Regions from separate parts of the Homo sapiens genome. Here region 2 is linked to region 1. The links are contacts of gene promoters, found by promoter capture Hi-C in blood cells and fetal thymus (Javierre and others, 2016). All regions are on one chromosome and are shown on one strand. The core of a region is centred on a gene start or on the middle of the fragment in contact, and the rest is flanking DNA. Distances in the headings are between cores, read along the strand shown. Region 1 holds the start of C1QTNF2 (C1q and TNF related 2). Region 2 holds the start of FABP6 (fatty acid binding protein 6).

Evidence for each region. The method cuts DNA at HindIII sites, captures the fragments that hold promoters and counts their contacts. A CHiCAGO score of 5 or more calls a contact.
Region 2: a contact is called between a fragment that was not itself captured here and the fragment with the promoter of C1QTNF2 in region 1, in 1 of 17 cell types (neutrophils). The highest score is 11.7, in neutrophils.

What each region holds. Positions count from the first base shown.
Region 1 is chr5:160,369,322-160,372,440 of GRCh38, forward strand. C1QTNF2 (C1q and TNF related 2) reads right to left here and starts at 1,305. Exons shown (of 3, transcript NM_031908.6): 1 at 1,191-1,305. The HindIII fragment of the contact is 8,188 bases long and covers 1-2,645 here.
Region 2 is chr5:160,228,283-160,231,735 of GRCh38, forward strand. It overlaps FABP6 (fatty acid binding protein 6), which reads left to right and starts at 1,224. Exons shown (of 4, transcript NM_001445.3): 1 at 1,224-1,342. The coding sequence starts at 1,276. The HindIII fragment of the contact is 3,160 bases long and covers 324-3,453 here.

The DNA of each region.
Region 1 (3,119 bases), core at 55-2,554:
GGAGATGGGGAGAAGTCAGACATTTGGGAGGAAACAAATTCTGCAGTGAATCTGATGTGTTACAATGAAGGGCTGTAGTGATGCTTGGAAATGTGTGGAGAGTTTGAGGATCGGGCAGTTGAAAGCAGGAGTAATTGATATAATTACTCCAGATGACAGAATAAATTAGAGAATGGTGCAGAGGGAGGGCAAAAATAAGGATGTGAGAGGACAGATTTTTAACAGTGCTAACTGAGCACCAGCCTTGGATTGACCTATGTAAGACATTGTCTTTCTATTACTGCTACTTCAGCATGGTGGAAACACAGGGTCTCTGAGAGATGGCCAGTCTAAGGAAGGGACCTCTGCAGGCTTCCAAGCAGGGCAATTTTGTGGTCAAGGAGCAGAGGAGGATCACAATGAGGTAATGCAAGGGACTCATGGTGTCAGAGGAGAGACCTGGGCTGGGAGACTATTAGGGCCCACTGCAATTATTTAGCTGAAAAGCGAGGTCCTAGAATGGGGCAGCAGCAGTGGGGATGGAGAAATAAGGACAAAGCATATTAAGACAAGTAGTTTAGGTGGGGAAGGAGAGTGAAGAGAGTCATGAGGCATTGAGTACAAATCTCTGCCTGCCGTTCAATACCTTTTGAGCTCAGTTTGCCAGTCTGTATCATATATTTAAATAAATGTGAAGGTTAAGTGAAATAATGCATTCAGTAAATGTTAACTGTGATTGTTAGCTCGGGTATTGGACTCAGATTTACCAGACTTCAAGTCCCTTTTTTATCAATTACTAGCTGTGCAACCCTGTCCAAGTCATTAATGTCTCTGAGCCCAGTTCCTCTTTTGTAGACGGGGATAATCTGTTGTCATGAAAATGAAAGAGCACAAGTAAAGTGCTAGCAGGACTTGGCACAAAGTAGGCGCTCAATAAATGGCAGAGCTACGGGTGTTACTATTGTAACGGGTAAACCACTGGGCACAGAGCCTGGCACACAGTAAGGACTCAAAACATGTTAATTTGTATTATAATACGAAGGTAGAAGTCGAGAGGCAGGAATGCAGGAGCTGCCCAGCCCGCAATAAAGGCGCGCTGGCAGCTCTCCCACCTTCCGCATCCCGCCCCGCCCGCAGCAGTGCGAGTCCTCCTCCTCCTCCTCCCCGCGCGCACTTGCCGCCCCCGCCCGACCGCGGTGCGGGACACTCACCCTCGCGGCTGCCCGCCACGTCCAGGGGCGTCCGGAGCAAAGAAGCTCTCGGCGGGGCTCCGCGTCCCGGCTTTCCTCAGCGGCAGCAGCCGGGCAGAGCGTCGGCCCCAGGCATAGTTTTCCCATCCCGTCATGGGCGGGAGAGCCTTCCTCCCGGTCACGTGGGCTGGCCCGCAGCGCAGCATTCTCTTTTTAGCAGCTGTTTGGAAAAAACTTGCAGTGCTGATGACAACTCGGGTGTGTCGATGCATCTCTGCGTTTGTAGAGCTTGTTAGCGTATTTGGAGGTTTTGTGCGCCAGAGTGATCAGAGTGATTGTTTCCCACGCGTTTGCAAAGGTGTGCATGTACTTGAGTGTGATGATAAATCATAGGGATGTGTTTAGTTGTGTGTGTGCGTACGTGCGTTTATCCAAATTTTCATCAGGGCTGTTCGGTGTATGTACACATGCATGCACATGTCCAAGATGGCAGCTTGGTGTAAAACTGGAGGGCACATCAGTGGTTGGATGTACACGATAGTGGCTAGACATCTGTATGTGGGGTGCATGTTTAAATGTGTGTGTGACTGTGCAGGGGCTCATTCTGTGTGTTGGTTTGACATCTGTATGTGGGGTGTATGTTTAAATGTGTGTATGACTGTGCAGTGGCTCATTCTATGTGTTGATTTCTATGCATGCCTTGGTGTGGATTTTGTCCGGATGTGAGTGTGCACATACACACTAGTGTGGGTGAGTTCCCCTGTGTACCAGCTCTCATTTCTCTTCTCCCCAGAAGGTGAGGATTCACTGGTCTCACTCACTCTGGCCCAGCCTCAAGTCATTGAGAGACTTATGGAGGGTCTCAGCTCCCAGGATAGGCAAAGCAATCCTATTTGGGAATCAAGCAGGCACTGGAGGAAAGGAAATCCTCCAAGGCCTGGCTTTTGCTTCTCCCTGTTCCTTCCACTGCTCTCTTCCACTAGCTACCCATATTTCACTCTGCACAGCCAGAGCATCTGGTTAACAGCTGGTAAGTGACACAAAATTTACAGTCAGAATTTTAATACAGATATGCATTTGAATTCTAATGTTGTATCCACCACCTTAATCAAGTCAGATAATCTCACAGATGGTGTTTTATTTTCTAAAAAAAATGGGAGAATAATATTACCTGCACTGCCTTTACCCCAAAGTTGGGACACTAACTCATAAAGATGTTTGGTAAGCCATTGAACTATGTAGGGAATTATTACTAATATCACATAAATACTATTTGAGAAAGAAAGTTTGTAGGCTTAACAAACATTCATTCAACAAATATTTAATAAGCATCCATTGTGTGTCAGTCCCCAAGCAAGGTGCTGGGGACATAGAGGGAAACAAATAGGCTTGATGCCTACCCTCATGAAACTTAGAGTCCTCCAGCTGGGGATGACACAAGTGGTTACAAGTGAAATGAGTGTTATAGAAAAGAAAAGCTTAAAGTATAAACTGGGCAGTCAGGGGAAGGCCTGGGAAACTGATGTTTCAGGTGAACCCTGAGAGATGACTGAGACTTGTCTGAATGTAGGGGAAGTGTGAGCTCAAAAAATGAAGGAATGATAACATGTGGAGTGGAGTTTAGGGTGTTGATACACAGATGGCTGGAAAGGAAACTTCCATCCACCGCCTCTTGGGTCAGATGTGTCAGCAATTGGAAAGGTGAGGAAACTGCTTAGAATGCCTGGAGGCCATTCAGAATCTAAAGGGCTCAGGAAAGCCCCTCTCCTAGAGTAGAGTGGTAATATCTGTGTGTTATCCATGTGGCTCCATCATGACAGAGGTTGAAATCACTGGCATGCTCTCATTGGTTAAAAAAAAAAGGTTAATGAAAAGTTAAGAAAGGCAGTGCTGCTATACCTGGTAGTGTGAAACATTTAATAAACACTACTGATTGAATGAATGGGGGCA
Region 2 (3,453 bases), core at 654-3,153, 140 kb before region 1:
CTGGAGGCTGAGGCAGGAGAATTGCTTGAACCCGGGAGGCGGAGGTTGCAGTGAGCCGAGATCACACCTTTGCACTCCAGCCTGGGAAACAAGAGTGAAACTCCATCTCAAAAATAAATAAATACATAATAATCACGAGAGCCTTTGCAGAGTGTTTTATACTTTGCACTGTCAATTTTGCCCAATGCAGAGGACATTCTCACAAGATGGGTAGGCCGGAGTGATCACGGAGGAGATAGAGTCCCTGCATGTGAAGTGGTACTGAGAGACACAGCAGGAAATGGAAGTCAAGATTCTGAACCCCTAACCCCTTCCAGCTCTGAAGCTTGAACAAAATAAAACTCATCCAGCATCCAGCCCAGTGCCTGGTGCACAGGCATCTTCAAGGCACCTGGCACCTTCTCCTCCAGGTGCGCTGCCTAGGCCCATGGGTGGCTGCTTTACTCTGGTTGCATTATCTGCACCCTTAGGAGCATCTGTTCTCCTTCAAGTTTGCTTTGCTCCAGCTAAACTCATTGTTTCCTTTCATCATGGCCCTTTCCATCTTCGTCACACTGTTCCCTCGTCCTAGAATATCGTCTCCCTTTGTTCTCAGCCTCCTCCAACCTTCCTGCTTCTCTACACATCCAAGTCCTATTGGTCCTCCAAGACGGGTGCCAAATGCCACCTCCTCCCCAAACATGCACTAGCCCTGCGCTGGACACCATTGCTCCTTCCCCATGCTCCAGGTCAGCCATCTGCTTTTCTCCTGGGGCACATCACATCCTGCTTACACAAGAACTCTCTGCAGGTGTGTGCTTGTCTCTGGACTAAACCAAAGGCTCTTTTGGGAAAGGTGTGTGTCTCGTTCATCTGTGTTTCTTCAGTGCTGGCCCTGCATGCAGCAAGTGCTCAAGTGCTTTGGCTGCAGAGTTAGAGGGTGCAAGAGTGATGAGAGATGGTGAGAGCATGGGTTGAGGGCAGGGCATGCGGGAACGGAGGGAGAGATGGGCAGAGAGGTGATGACTCCTCAAACCCGTTGCCATCCTGACCCTGCTGGCAATGGGGTGACAGCACTTCCCCAGGGTGAATAACCTCGGGGCTCTGTCCCTCCAGGTCCTGCCCACATCATAAAACAGCAAGTGCTTCCTCTTCAGGACAGGAGGGAGAAGAAGTGGGGTGACTTAGGGGCTGAGCCTCAGCAACTGGGAGAGTTTATAAGCTGGGATAGCAGACCCCTCAGCACCACCCATTCTCCTCATCCCTCTGCTCTCTGGCCTCCAGCCTCCCAGCAGCATGGCTTTCACCGGCAAGTTCGAGATGGAGAGTGAGAAGAATTATGATGAGTTCATGAAGCTCCTTGGTGAGTGAGCTCCTGGGTATCCCTTCCTCGGGGTTGGTTTGTCACAGCCAGCTCTGGGCCAGGAACCCTAAAGTAGAATGGGACAGGATTTCATCCATTCATTCACTCACTCACTCATTCATTCATTCACACATTTGTTGAGCAACTGCTTTCTCCCAGGCTCTGAGGATAATAAGAACTAAGACACTCTTTAACTTTTTTATTTTATTTTATTTTATTTTATTTTATTTTATTTTATTTTATTTTATTTTATTTTATTTTATTTTTGAGACAGAGTCTCACTCTGTCTCCCAGGCTGGAGTGCAGTGGCACCATCTCGGCTCACTGCAACCTTCGGCTCCCACGTTCAAGTAATTCTCCTGCCTCAGCCTCCCGAGTAGCTGGGATTACAGGTGTGCACCACCACGCCCGGCTAATTTTTTTTTTTTGTATTTTTTTAGTAAAGATGGGGTTTTACCATGTTGGCCAGGCTGGTCTTGAACTCCTGACCTCAGGTGATCCACCCAGCTCGACCTCCCAAAGTGCTGGAATTACAGGCGTGAGCTGCCGCACCCAGCATAGACACTCTTTGACTTTAAAACACACATAGAATATATTAGTATTTCCACTTTACTGATGGAAAACTTGAGGCCCAGGGAATTAACTAGTCCAAAGTCACACAGCTAGTAATTGGTAAAGTGGAGACTTGGTTGGTGAAGTAGAGATTTGATGTTTATTTAGTCAAACATGTATTTATTTTTATTCATTTATTTTTGAGACGGAGTCTTGCTCTGTCTCCCAGGCTGAAGTGTAGTGGCATGATCTCAGCTCACTGCAACCTCCGTCTCCTGGGTTCCAGCAATTCTCCTACCTCAGCCTCTCAAGTAGCTGGAACTACAGGCATGTGCCACCACATCTGGCTAATTTTTTGTATTTTCAGTAGAGACGGGGTATCACCCTGTTGCTCAGGCTGGTCTTGAACTCCTAACCTCAGGTGATCCACCCACCTCGGCCTCCCAAAATGCTGGGATTACAGACGTGAGCCACCGAGCCCAGCCCATCAAACATTTATTGAACACCAGCTATATGCAAGGCTATCTCAGTGTTACCAATGGGGACTCAGCGTGACTTGCCCAAGTCAGTGGCAGAGGCCATTGGCACCCAGGACCCTGTGATGAGTGGTGTCACCACATCCTGCCTGGGAGAGGAAACCAAAGGGTTAGCATGGAGACCAGGTTTGACAAGTCACTTCTTCACACAGTCATTCAGCAAACACAGGCCTCTTACTGTGCCAAACACTGTGGGCAGAGAGACCAGTGATTTCATTCCTTCTCTCACTGCTTGACTTGTAACACCAGTCTGTTGTGAGGAACCAATGAGACAGTGGATCTGACAATCTTGTGGAAATCTCAGTATCTCACTATCTAAAAAGTCTCAGGCAGTGTAACTCTCAAGGTTCAGAGGACAGCTCAAGGGGACCCGTGCCCTCCCTCTTGGTGGCCACTTCTTGCCTGCCAGCTGGCTCAGAGCAACCCTGAGACCAGGGCCCTTGTGCCTTGGGGCCTTGAGGAGTCGAGAGTCCCTCTGAGTCATGTATTGGCAGTGGCCCTGAAGGAGCAATGACTTGGCTTCACCTATAACAGCCTCGTGTTGTGGGATGGGAAGTGAGCCCACTTTGGTTCTAGACCTGATTCGGTCATTAAATTTCAGTGAAATACTGGGAAGTCCCTTTCCCATTCTGGGTGCTCACTTCCTTATCTGTAAAATAAAAGTATTAGAAGACACAGTCTTTCTCTGGCAGGGAGGAGGGGACGGAGTCCTGCTCTGTAGCCCAGGCGGAACTGCAGTGGCGCGATCCCAGCTCACTGCAACCTCTGCCTCCAGGGTTTAAGTGATTCTTTTGCCTCAGCCTCTCAAGTAGCCAGTATTACAGGCACCTGCCACCATGCCCAGATAATTTTTTTGTATTTTTAGTAGAGACAGGGTTTTACCATGTTAGCCAGGCTGGTCTCGAACTTCTGACCTTAAACGATCTGCCTGCCTCGGGCCCTCAAGGAGCTGGGATTACAGGCATGAACCACCATACCTGGTCTTGAAAGTCTCATTCATTCCAGAACTTCGCGAGCTTGGCA